2 separate regions of the Homo sapiens genome follow, and region 1 is linked to region 2. The links are contacts of gene promoters, found by promoter capture Hi-C in human tissues and cell types (Jung and others, 2019). All regions are on one chromosome and are shown on one strand. Each heading gives the region's core, a stretch centred on a gene start or on the middle of the fragment in contact. The rest is flanking DNA. Distances are from core to core; before and after follow the strand shown. Region 1 overlaps SFXN5 (sideroflexin 5). Region 2 holds the start of EMX1 (empty spiracles homeobox 1).

Region 1 (6,636 bases), core at 3,247-5,746, 93 kb before region 2:
GGAACTTGACAGGTTGCTATGAAAAGTTACATGAATACAAGCTAGGGGATAAGAATAGTGAAGACAATTTTCAAGAATAAGGTGGTGGGAGAGGACTCACCCTACCAAATATTATAAGACAACTTGGTTTTGGTACAGTGATAAGCAAATATGTCAGTGGAACAGAACAGAGAACCTGGAGACATGCCCATATGGAAATTTAAGATTTGACTAAGGTGGCATTACAAATCAGTGGAGAAAAAGGACAAACCATCTAATAGTATTATATGGTGCTGGGACAGCTGGCTACCTATGTGGAAAAGAAAGAAAGTCAGATCTCTACATCACCTTATATGCAAAAGGACATTTAAATATGAAAAGAAAATATTTGCAGCAATGTTTATGATAGCAAAAAATTGGAAACCGCTGAAATTCCATCAACAAGAAAATGAATCAGTCATGGCTTAGTCACGCAGTGGAATACTTAACACAGGAAAGAAAACAATGAGCAAGGGCGACATTTATGAATATGGATAAATCTCAAAAACAATGTTGAATGAAAAAATAGTAGCAGAGTAGTAATGCTCTCTGTCATTTATATAATGTTAAAAAATATGCAAAGCAATATTATATATAGTTTATGAGTACATTTTTAATGCATCCTTAAAAACATCCATGGGAACAATAAGCACCGGCTTCGTGATACTGTTTACCTCTGGGGAGAGAAAGCAATGAAATTTAGCAGGAGAACAGGGGGTGCTTCATTTGTATTTATAGTGTTTCATCTTTTAAAAACATCTTCACAAAAAAATTGACGAAATAAGATTGGACATATATGGATGCTCGTTATCCTCTAGACTTTTCTGTATCCTTGAAATATTTCATTTTATACATATATTTAAAAATATATAAATATATCGAGAGAGGTATTATTCACATCTCTATTTTTATGTCGTTGCCCTGAAACTACTACATTGTTCTGAAATATTCTGAGAAAGGTTTATAAATTTCCCACCATAATTGTGTGTATGTGCAAGTGTGTGTTTCATTTCTTTGCATTTCTTGCGGTTGTCTTATAGATTTCAATGCAATGGTGTTTGGTGTGTTCAGACAGTTTTGTCTTCTTGATATCATCTCTATCTCTCAAACACACACACACACACACACACACACACACACACACACGAAATATCCCTGTTTCATTGATTATTCTTGCCTTGAATTTTCTCTTAATTTTTTTATTCCTGTTTTGCTTAAATGACTTGCATTATATATCATTGCCTGTACCTTTATGTCAGAGTCATTTAATTTCTGTGCCATTTTGTATTACACATCTCTTTTGGACAAAATATAGCTGAATTCTACTTTTGCTGCATAAAAAGGCTACTTACATTTAACTCAGTTTGAGAAACACTGCCTTTAATTTTAATGAGAAATGGAACCCATTCGTATTTATTCTGCCACTGATGGTTATGACTGCATATCCCAGCTGTCAAATGGGTTTTCTTGTGGCTGTTAGCTTTTTATTAAGCTTTGTTATTGTTTCCACTTCTTCTCCTGATTTATACTAGAGGATAAGTCCTTTAGTTTCTTTAGTTTGGAAGGGGAGCATCCTAATTTTCTCTACTTACCATTCATCTGTCATATTTTATAGTACAGAGAGGTTGCATTATATATACTTTATAATCAAGAGTCAAATAATAAATATGACTTACCTAACGCTACCCACATAGGAGGAGACCTGTAGCATGTAATTTCACTCTACTCTCTACTTGATCATTTTACCTCCCTCCACACACCTGCCAAGTTTTTGGAAATCATCTGGAATTTCATCAGATTTATAAAGCCTTTCTTAACACCTGTATTATACTTAACAATTATTTAGGCTGTGTGTGTGTGTGTGTGTGTGTGTGTGTGTGTGTGTGTGTGTGTGTGTGTGTGTTGTTTGGCTAGAATACCCTTTAGAACAATATTCAGAATATAGGGGTAATATGCCTTTCTGAATCTTTGCATATCTGGAGATCTTTTTTTCTCTTTCATACATGAACAATAGTTGGCCTGATTTTCTTTTCCTTTCTAGGTAAACTTCCCCCTTCCCCTGGAATCGTTTGATATTTTTTCTCTTTATCTTTGGAGTTCAGAAATATCTCCTAGGATTTAAAAAAAAATCTTCTCTGTATATTTTATAAAATTATACAAGTAATACATGAATATGTTCTTTGGGATTCAAAAATACCACCAAGAATGTTTTATAAAGAATATTTTAAAAGTTATACAAGTAATACATGAATGTTCTCTCAGCTCAGAATTTAAACAATACAACCAAAAGTAGAGGTCCTTGTGATGCTCCTCAACCCCGAATCTCTGCCCAGAGTAACCCCTGTAAGAAGTTTGGTGTGTGCCTCTAGGCTTTTTCTAGATATCTGCATACATTTAAGTCATTTAAAGTGTTTTTTTGTTTTGTGGAGTTTTCCATTAAAATATAACAATATACTTATTTATCTATGGTTAGCTTATGACACTTAGCAGTTTGCCTCCATAACAATTGGCTTCATTTATTTATTTGTTTGTTTTCTCTGCTGAATGGCACCCTCTCCTCCAGTGTGATGGGTTGAGGTTATGTCCGATTATTTGCTATTAGAAACGATTGTGCTGTGAAAAATCTTTGTAAAGCCATTTTTGCACAAGGATAAGGGTTTCTCAAGGGCACTTCCAGAAAGTGAATTTGCTGCATAAAAAGCTACACACATTTACATCTTTAACAGATATGGCTGAATTTCCCTTCAAAAAGACTATATTTCTCCATGCTTTTGTAACACTAGTATTCATTCATCTTTTTAACGTTTTTGCCAATCTGATGGGAGAAGGGGTAGATTCTCATTATACTTTAAATTTTTGTTTCCATAAACACCAAAAAGATGTTGGTGCTTTTTAAATCTATTTATTGGTGATTTGTATTCCCCCTTCTCTGAATTACCTGTTCACACTCTTTGTCCATTCTTCCATGGGCCATATTTTTCTAGTTGATTTGTAAGAGCTCTTTATGTATTTTGGACATTAATCCTTTGGATTATATATATGGCACGTCTCTTCTCCAGCTGTTTCTCCCTTATTCTCTGGTGTCTTTGTTATAGAAAAGTTTTAAATATTGATGTCTTTAAATATAATGATCTCTCTTTTGATTGATTTGAGTCTTTTTCCACTCCACACCTCCATCTCCTTTATTAAAATAACTGAGGCCAGGAGTGGTGGCTCACACGTGTAATCCCAGTACTTTGGGAGGCCAAGGTGGGAGGATTGCTTGAGCCCAGGAGTTTGAGACCAGTCTGGGCAACATAGGGAGATCCCATCTCTACAAAAAAGTTTAAAAATTAGCCAGGCATGGTGGTGTGCGCCTGTGGTCTCAGTTACTCAGGAGGCTGAGGTGGGAGGATTACTTGAGCTGAGGAGTTTGAGGCTTCAGTGAGTTTTGATTGTGCCACTGCACAATTGATTGATTTGTGAAAGCTATGTCGTGGAATCAGCTCTTGGATGTATTTATCAATTCTGTATTCTAATTATTCTTTTATGCTTTTGTTTTTATAATATCCTTTTTCCCTCCTTTCTTTGTTTGTGGTTGGTTTTCTTACTTTTTGCCTTGAATGCTTAGTTTATTTATTTTCCTTCTAATGAAAGTGTTTAGTGCTGTGAATTTGCCTCTGAATATATCTAAAACATGGCTATATCTGATATGTTTTCATATATAGTGATCTTATGTTGTTATTTTCTAAATAAGCTTGGAATTATAATTTCAAATCCTCTTTAGTCAATTAGAAGAACACATTTTAAATTCTAAGTGGTTGGGTTTTAAAAAATGTGTTCTTTTGTTATGTTCTAGCTTATCTTATTTTCAGAGAAAGTGACCTCTACAATTTTGCCAAATTTTGCCATTTGGGATTTATTGTGGTTTTCTTTGTAGCATGGTATCTGAATATGTCAGTTAGGATCAGGGTCATCTGCATGTAACAAAGTCCAAAATAACAGTGGCTTAAACAAAATAGTTTATTTCTCTCTTATGTCAAAGAAGTTTGGAGATAAGGAGGACCCCCACAATATCATCAGGAACCCAGACTTCCATTTTTCTACACCACCATTTTCAGTACTGGCTTCTATTGTAAAAAGTCACCCCATAGCCCGAGATGGCTGCTGGAGTTCCAGCCATCACATTCACATTCCAGAGAGGAGAAAGAAAAGAAGAATAGTAGGCTATATCTCCCAACCGAAATACATTTATCTTTAAGATACAGCCTCTCTTTAAGGAGCCTTTTGGGAATTTCCATGCAACATTCCATGTTCTGCATATATTTCATTCAGAATTTAGCTGGGTATATACATTTCATTTAGAATTTAGCTGGGTATATAGTTGATCCCCAATTATATAAGGATTCTATTAGTAAGAAAGAAGGGAAGAATGGTGATAGGCAAACAAGAATGCCATAATAACTTTTATAAATATTCCATCAACACTTTAAAAGATATACAATTTGGTGGTATCATCACTTTGTTAAACTGGGTAACTGGGTATTTGAAATGGCAAAAGTTGAATGTGGGGCTCATTTTTCCCTGAGAAGCCAAATGGACCCTTACACAATTATCAGCTGCCATCAAGTGGGAAGAACTGGCCAACCCAGCAGATGCCAGCACTGTCTTCCATTCACAAGGAGTTACTGAGGCTCACCCCATACGTTTCCACTCTCTCCTTACCCTACCCTAGACAAGCCCATCATTGCAGGGTCACTATGGCCCTGTAGGCAGGTGGGAGACTTGGATGCTGATCCACTCCCCTGCCATTCAGGGGTTCATTGCTGAAGCAGATGCTGTGAATGTCCTAACAGGACCGATCCTTTCCCAGCCTGGAGCAAGCATCCTTCTGTGAATAAACGCATGTGGTGTAAGAAGAGGATGCCCTGGCCCCCAAGATCCTGTGTGAATACTTGATGGAGGCGAAATGGGGAGCATGGCCTGGGATACCTCCCAGCAGCTCTACGAGGCAGCCAGAACTGAAATGACAATGCTCACCTATCCCCACTTCCTAGCCCCAGATATCTGTATCCTGAGGTTCAGAACAGTCAAGCCAGAGGCTGAGTCTCCAGAGGAACCACTGGATTTGAAGAACCTGGGCCTCCCACCTTGGCACTTTCACATGGACAAGCAACATGGTCCGTCACCACTCCTCCCCACCCCTGGGCCACTGCCTCGTCTTGTGTGGAAAGAGCATGCTGGCTGCTCCAGTGCTTCCTGCAGCCCCATCAGCTTCTCCAAGGCCCTGCTGTCGCCTGGTAGCACTGAACATTTAAGCAAATGCCTGGTCTGAAGGGGAGTGAAGGTTCCAGTCCACACCTTAGGAAAGCCCCTGGTCTGATGGAGTGGGTAAGAAAATATACGCATGCAGAAGCCACTAAAAATGCTTACCAAAATAGAAACGAGGGTGCCAGCGAATGTGCTAGGAACTGGGTCCCTGAGTGATGAAGGGAAGGGGCGAGTAAGGCTGGCAGGTGCCTCAACTGAGAAGCTTCTGGAAACCACAGTCAAGCTGCCTTCTGCCCAGGTGCACATCCCCAGCTTGACCCCTACGCTGTTTCCACTTTGCCCGGGAGTCACCTCGCCCTACCCTGCTCGCCCCCCAGAGCTCAGGAGAAACGAGCTGGTTTTCTCCCAGAGGCTGGTGCCAGTTTAGTCAGCAGATTTCACAGATCCACTGGCAACCATGTAGTGTCTTATTTTAAGCTTAACATTTGAAGATGGGAACTTTTTCCCCCTTCGGTGTGTGGCAAAGAGATCCCAATTTATACATAAGCACCGCGGCTATGCCGGTGCACTGAGGCTGTCCCTGAGGCTCTGCGGTTCGTCACTCCCTTTCTTCAGGTATCTTTCCAGAAAAAACCCGCCAGCGTGGTTGCTTCTTATACACGGCCTCTCCCTTCCCAGGTTTCCCCTAAGCACAGCACTGCCGCTTCCATGCACGTGGCCTGGGAGAGGCAGGGCCCGGCTTGGCCCTGGTGGTCCGGCCCTCGTCCTGCCTGCCCTCTCCATTTCTCCTCTGCTCCTGCGCCCTCTTCCCTTGGCTGCTGCGGAATGCCTCGGATGCCAGGGCCTGGGTTTCCCTCATGGGCCTGGGGCTCTCCCAGAGAGCATTTGTGCCTCTCTCAGCCCTGAGCTCCCCACAGCACTGCTTCCCTCCCCTCTCCTTCTCCCCGCTCCATGTCATGTCGAACTCTCAAAACTTAGGGACCAAATGCCTCATTTCCAGCCCAGGGTGCTAAGGAGGGCAGACCATGAACACCTAGTTATTGGGTCTGGTGGCCTTAGGTTAAGTCTAAATCCGATTTCTGTCTTGAGACATTAAGAACTTGGACTCTGTACTTTGCACTCCTTCATTTTAACACACAGGTGATCACATGGGCTTAGAGACTCTAAGTATCAGAAGATGCTGGTGTCGGCCACTTCATCTCCAGGGGTGTTTCCCAGGGCCCTCCTGACATCTCCCAAGCCGCCTCATCCCTCCTCTGCTTTTTTGCACATTTAAATCCCAATCCCAATGTTCTCCCTGGCCTTCCTCCAGCATTACCAGACCCCAGCCATGTTGACCTAGCTCACCACACAGGAGGTGTCGCTCCA
Region 2 (6,749 bases), core at 4,161-6,660:
CTGTTGGGATTGACTGATCCAATTAATTTCTTCAGAGATGGCTACTGGTTGGACTTGATTTGACCTGTTGCTTTGCTCTAAGACAATCACCTGGATAATTCAGTTAACATCTCCCATCTCTGGAAACATCTATGTAAGTGAATCAAAAGCAGATAATTGAGATGCTGTAGCTAAAACTCTCCAGGTAACTGTTCTTGTCCCTCTGTTGGTGGAAACTCCCTGACCTTACTTCCTCCAAGTCTCTGGGCTTTGGTTACCTAAAGAAGCCAAGTTTTTGCTGGAGTTTTCTGTGGAACAGAGTTGCTAGGATTGCGGGGCTAGTGCCTGGAAGGGGTCAGTCAATAATCTCCAGTCACCTTATCAATTTCAACTGGTTGGATCTGTGCAGCCACAAAAATGGTGGGACCACATCACAGGGAGATGGGTGAGGGACACCCCATTTGATTATTCAAGTGGCGCAGATCTAGGGCCCTCAGGTCCGACTGAAGAGAAGTTTGACTTGGGATAGTGGAATAGACAGATGGTCAGGGGAGGTGGTCTGGCAGAGATGAGTAAAGGGCAGAAAAATATGGAGCCTGCTCCAGGTGGGGAATAAGGAAGATTAAAGTCTCTGGGGTGGGGCCAGTGAGGTAGGCCAGGGAAAGGTGGGTGGAAAGCAAATGCTTCTTGTTAATGTTAATAACTTGCTTCAAAAAACAACATTGTTATGAACCTGGGTGAAGTCCCAACAGTGGTTTCCTCTGGACAAATGAACCAGAGAGGGAGAGAGAAAGCCTAGCTCATCCCAGCATTGGCAGGGTTTGGCCTCAGATGCTGGGCTGGCCCAGGTTGGTCAGAAGTGAGGCTGCAGTGTGGAAAGCCCCGTAAGTGTGTATGAATAGGAGGCAGAGGTGTGAAGGGCAGTGTGGGGCTGAGGAAGCAGGTCTGCAGTCTGCCCCAGTGTCTCTGACTTAGTGATTATTTTGTAATTATGTGGTATATGTCAGTCACCTGTGTGGTGGAGTGCTCTGTGTTTGTCTTTATAAACCCAGATGAGAGGATGAAGGCAACAAGCTTCTGTACCAACATACATGCCCCTTTGCCTCAAGTCTGGTTATTTTAGGGGGATGCTAGGTTGCTTTGGGTCTACCTTACTGAGAAAATGGCCCCAGGTCATTGTCATGTCCAGTTGTGGTAGACAGCATGTGTCCTAAAGGGTATATTCACATGCATGTGCAAAAATACAGGGGTCCTTCTAACCCTATCACAGAGAAGCAGGAGACTGCAGGATGAGTCAAGATGCTAAGTGATGACAGGTTATTTGATTCCAAAAGAATAAGGACGTTTCCCTGTTAGAAAGAGGATGTTTAGTACAACACCAAACATCCTGAGAAACAGATCAATTGCTACATGTTTCTGCAAAGACAAGGGTGATGCCTTAGGTGCACAGGTACCTGTACCGCCCCGCCCCCCGACCTGTGGGAAGGAGGCCTGAACCACCCCTACCAGGGGTTCAGTTTCCCTTGCCTGGACCACAAGGGCAGAACAAACTTGGGTCTAGGGTGCGGCCTGTTTGGACGCAGTAATTCTGGGCTGTGAGAACGGGCTGTCAGTTTCGGACTAGGACAGTTAGCAAAGTGGAAAGGGACTGGTATAGCCGTCCCTGGAGCTAGGGAAATGAATACCCCTCTCCTCCCTGCTTCCCTACCCCTCCGATTTTTCTACAGCCACTCTTTTAGGGCCCCTTCAAGGCAATGGCTGGGAACTAGCACAAGAGATTCCCAGGAATGAGGGAGCTGGAGGTGGGAGCTAGGGATCCGAAGCACCCGGGGTCCGAGCTGCAGTCTTCGAGCCGCAGTCTTCGCTGGAGAGGCCGCCGCCGGCCAGGGGCTCAGGGCCGGACGGCTGGGCGGAGGGCCCTAGGGCTAGGAGAGGGAGAGGCAGGACAGGCGGCGGAGATAACCTCATTCCCCGTCCTCCTGCCAGAACAAAGGCGACCTTAGAAGCTCCGGCCCATTGTAGTTGCGGGTCCCGGGGGGCTGGGTCTCTACAGCCCCCTCCAGGCGTTGCTCCTAGACCCGGAAAGTTCCTGATCTCGGGGAAACAGTACCGAAATGCGGCCCACTCCTGGTCTTCGTCGGCTCCTCCCCTTCGGTGCTCGCGAGCGGCCCCGACCTTCGGAGTCCTGGACGATTCCGCATTCGCTTTTCCCCTTCCAGCGCCTCGGTTAGCGGAGACGCCGCTTCCCCGCGCGCCGGGACCGCGCCGCCCAAGCGCTGCGCAGAGAGCGCAGACATGTTCCTTTTCGTTCGTGTGGGGTTTCGTTTGTTGCATTAAGACGGGGCTGAAATGAGCATCGCTGAGACCCGGTTCTCTAGAAAACGCGGCGCCGGAGGGCCCGAGACGGCTCGGCTCCCAGCCCAGAGGCCTGGCCGGGACTGGAGGGCGTAGAGCCGCCGGGGAGCGCATCCGTCTGCAGCGGCGACGATGGACCGCGAAGCAACAGCGCTACAGGGTTCGAAAAGTCCTTCAGTGCCCAACGGATTTCCGGGTCCGAAAATGCAGCCACACTTGGCTCCATCTCCGCGTCCAGACTCGGTTCTTGAGGGAAAAATCCAACTGTTTGTGCTACTCGATAACGTACCCGCTGGGACTGATGGCTCAGGAAGCGGCGGCAATTTCCAAGAGGGTTTTGCGAAGGATTTATCCGCCTCGCCTGACTGGAGACGCTCAGAGCCGGAGCTGGATTTCTCTCCAGGCGCCCCCGGCCCTCGGCGCCCGGAGGCAGGAACCGCGGTGCGGAGGGCGTCAGGGGCTGGATTCGAAGCCGAGGGTGCGGCCCAGGATGCCGACTCCGGACAAGCTGAACGGCTGGAGGCCACAGGACTTAGGAACGACCCCGCCCTCTCCTCCGAGCCCCTATCCCTCCACAAGCCTCCAACCCGCCAGCCCCTCGGCCGCGGCGGCCCGCGGGCTCACACACCGCCCCAACTACAACTCGGCCCCTGGGCGCCAGGTTTCGAGACCCAGGCTTCGGATCGAGCCCACGGAGGACCAGGGTAGATTGCTCAATTTTAAAGATATCCTCATGTTATCAGTAAACATTTATTTTTAAGTGGCAGAAACTCTTGCCCAAGGCAGATGACATTGTAGCATTTTTGTTTTTTCGGATTTGGATTTGGGCAAGTCTTTGAAATCTTCAAAGAGGAGGCAAGGCTACCCACAACAATTCTTATTCTAGTAATTACATTCTCTGGTTTTGTGGTATCTGCCAGGTCAGCATCTATTGGCCAGGTGGGACTGAAAAAATTGCCTGACAAATCGGGACCTGGGAAAGCGGTTTTCTGTGAAAGTCAAAGTGTCAAGAGATAATTTTCATTTTATTATCTAAACAACTGTGCCAAACATCTAATTGACTGTAGACCTAGACTACAGACCGTCACATTAGCTCCTGGAGCCGAAGCTCCAGCCATGTCCCTTTCATTTGTTTCTCTAAAAGCCGGGTTACCTAGCTCTGAGCCATAGACCCTTCTCACAAGGCTGTGGTCTGGTCTACACTAACAAAATAAAACTGGAAACTAAAGTGATGCCTGTACAAATCAAGGCCACTCTTTAAAATAAAATTTAAAAAAAAAGAAAAGAAAAAAACAAACTCCAACAAATTTCAAGGAAGAAAACGAACTCCAACAAATGCAACTCTCTTTTCTCCGGGAAAGACAAATAATTGAAACGTGTGTGTGTGTGTGTGTGTGTGTGTGTGTGTGTGTGTAGGGCCAGTGGAGGATCTTTATTAGCAAGCCGATTGCTGGATGCAAACTCCGGGGTTCGGACTGGCTACGACCTTAAAAGCCCTCTGCCCCCGCCCCCTGCCCGGGAAAACTGTCCTCGGTATTCCAGCAGCCGGGTGGGCTCCCTCCCGAAGGCGGCGAGCAACGGCGGAAGCCAGTTTGCTTACTGCAAACCTTCCCCACCTTGGGTAGGAGAGGCACGTGTGACTTGGAGAAGTCGGGCCAAGGTTGCCGAGAAACATCCCAAGACAGCCAGGCCCTCCACACTGAACATTAACTCTCCGATTCGCCCTCCCTGCTGCCCTTGCTTCCCCCAGAGCTGGGGCACGCGAATGGACTTTCCCCCGCCCGGACGCGCCAGCGAAGGCTGAGGTCTCGGAGGTGGTGGTGGACTTGCGAGAGAAGCGTGGTGCGAGGTTAAGCCGGGCGGAGGGAGAGCGGGAGGAGTTGTACTCTGGTCTGAGACTGGCTCAGCTGGGAGAGAGAATTGGGCAGGCTGTGGCGAGGGCCAGCACAGGCTCCGAGGACGCGCCTGGGCTTGCGTCCGAACTGGTATATTTTCTAGAAAAGCCTGGAGGTCTCCACCTGCTTTCCTGGGAGGGAGACCTACGCGGCGAAGGCGCGGGTGGATGCCGCACAGCTCTTCCCTGCCTGGGAATCTACCTCCGCGGACCTGCAGCCTTCCCGGCAGTAACTTCTAAACAGCCCCGCGCGCCCCCGAGCCTCCCCCGCATCGCCGCAGCACGGGCGCCGGCCGGCCGCCTCGGCGGGCACAGCGTGGACACTCACCCTGGAAGCGGTGGCCGAAGAAGCGGTTCCGCAGGACCCAGGGGTAGAAATGGAGAGGGTCCCGGTGCTGGGCGCCGAAGAAGGAGTGCGGGGGCTGCAGCGGGGAGGCGCCCAGCTGGTGCGCCGGATGCACGGTCAGCGCGGGGTGGTTCATGGCCTCGGGGAACACGAGCTCGGGCCCACCGTAGAGCGAGCGGCCCGCGCCCGCGGCGGCCGCGGCAGGGAAGCCACTCACGAAGGCCGCCTCGGCCGCGCTGGGGTGAGGGTAGTTGAGCGCCGTGGGCCGGAGCGGTTCCTCGGAGGCGGCCGCCGCCAGGAGATGGGAGCCCGCGCCCCCGCCGCCAGTGCCCCCGCCGGTGCCGCCGTCCTTGGCCACCAAGGACTCTATGGTAAAGCCGCGCTTGGCCGCGGGCTGGAACATGGTCGCAGCCGCGGGAGCTGTGCGAGGCAGCCGGGCTCTGGGGAGCGCTCCGCGTCCTGGCGCCGCCGCCTTGCGGGGTGTGCACCCAGCCAGGCACATGCACACCCGCCCGCACCCCTCACCTCCCCCGCCCGCCCGCTCGCGCTCGGCCCCCGCGGGCGAGCCAGGCGCGGAGCGGCGAGGGGTGTGTGAGCGAGCGACCGCGGGGTCCGGCCACAGCGTACGGCCAGGCGCGGCGGCTGCTGCGGCGGAGCGGGCAGCTCCAGGCGCCCGCACAGGCGCGGGCTCCGTGCTAGGCTGCGAGCTGCCAGTAAGGCCCGAGGGTTGAGCTCGTCTCCCTCCTTTCGGAGTCCCGCTGGGACCGACCCCAGCCCCCGGTGTCCCCGCACTGCCCTGCCCAGCCCCGGCCGCCCAGCGCTGCGAGGCGCGAGTTAGCGGGCACCTGCCCCGCGCTCGCCCATTGGCCGCCGCTCACCTGCCCCAAGGTGGGGGGCGGGGCGGGGCGGGGCGAGGGACGGCGGGTGGGGAGGGAGCCCGCAGTCGGAGGCAAAAGCCGGACTGGAGCCTTCGCGGGGAGATCCAGGCCTCCTCCTCCCCTCGCCACTGGCTTCTCCTCGCGACTCCGCCCTTTAGCTGAGTCTGGTGGCCGTGCCGCCGTCTCAACCCACGCGGGAGCCGAAGAAGGCGTCCGAAGGGCTTGGGGCTAAACTCCAACCCTCCCCTCCCCGGTGTGTAGCTCAGCCTAACTCTCCCATTCGTCCCGGGATGTCGTTTCAGTTCTCAGAGAACTTGGATCCGAGCGGAGGGTGGATGTTTGGGGTCCAACACATTGGTTTTCCCGAAAACCAGCTCTCTGCCCCCCTGCTCTCCGGGACTCTCCCACTCACCCACCATCGGCCTCCTGGGCCGCGGTCTGAAGCTGCGACCTTGTTCCTGAGGTTTCGCGTTTTCTGGATGTCACGGGGGACAGCTCTGGAAAGGGGACGCTCACTCCCTTCACAAGGGGCCAGGCGGGGCACTGCGCGGGAGAAGCCGCCGGAGCGGTCCCACTGCCACCCTCCAGCTGTTCGCGGGGCTGGAAGCAGCTCCAGTGCCCAGACACGGTGCCGCGACCGGCTTGGACCAGGACGGCGGGCCTCGGCACTGGGAGATCCACCCCCTCGCCTTCTCTGAGGCTCTGGGGGCTCAAGTGTCGGCGGGCCGGACCAGGTCAGGGCCTCGGAGACACTGTGGCTTAAATTGAAGCTGGCCAAGTAGCCCGAGCCCATCTCAAGAGAACACGCCAGCCGTCAGGACACGCAGAAGCAGCCTGACCTCCCTCGACCTTCACCTTCCACCCGCGACCGCGGAACCGCGGACGACTCTGCTCCGGCCAGTTTTTCCGTACGGCGGACGAATTCCCCGGGGGCAGTTCTCACGACAGGCTGTGAGAGCCGGGACTCCCCAAACTTTCCCACCCCACCTTCGAGGCCGCAGAAAGGCGCCGCTCCGAGGCCTAGGAGGGCGCGGGCGGCGGTGGGGAGGCTGGGACCTGGACCTTGCCGGCGCACTGCGGAGAGGGAGCCGCAGAGAGTTCCGCTTCCTCGCCGCTGCCGGGGTCCATTCTAGCGGCCTGAGCGCTGCCTGGGCGCGCAGATCTGGGTTGGGCCTCCTGACGCCCCAAGGCCACGGGGTCCGTGCGCCGCGCAACTCTGCGGGGACTCCAGGCCGGGTCTTGGCAGCGGCCCGCCTGAGCGCCGGGAGCCGTGGTTTGGAGAGCGCTCAGGGCGCCC

The links. Contacts are between HindIII fragments. The study calls those that stand out against the background at their distance.
Region 1: a fragment that was not itself captured here is called in contact with the fragment with the promoter of EMX1 in region 2 in 2 of the 25 tissues and cell types used here (H1 embryonic stem cells and liver).

Annotation. Positions count from the first base shown.
Region 1 is chr2:73,007,935-73,014,570 of GRCh38, reverse strand. All of the region lies in intron 6 of SFXN5 (sideroflexin 5), which reads left to right. LOC107985897 (a long non-coding RNA gene) reads left to right here. Exons shown (of 2, transcript XR_001739535.2): 1 at 1-5,388. Among named protein-coding and RNA genes, the nearest start is that of SFXN5, 60 kb to the left of the region's middle. The HindIII fragment of the contact is 3,728 bases long and covers 2,633-6,360 here.
Region 2 is chr2:72,916,180-72,922,928 of GRCh38, reverse strand. It overlaps EMX1 (empty spiracles homeobox 1), which reads right to left and starts at 5,410. Exons shown (of 3, transcript NM_004097.3): 1 at 4,557-5,410. The coding sequence starts at 5,076. RefSeq lists silencers at 5,005-5,124, 5,195-5,614 and enhancers at 5,429-6,045, 6,046-6,663. The HindIII fragment of the contact is 9,258 bases long and covers 273-6,749 here.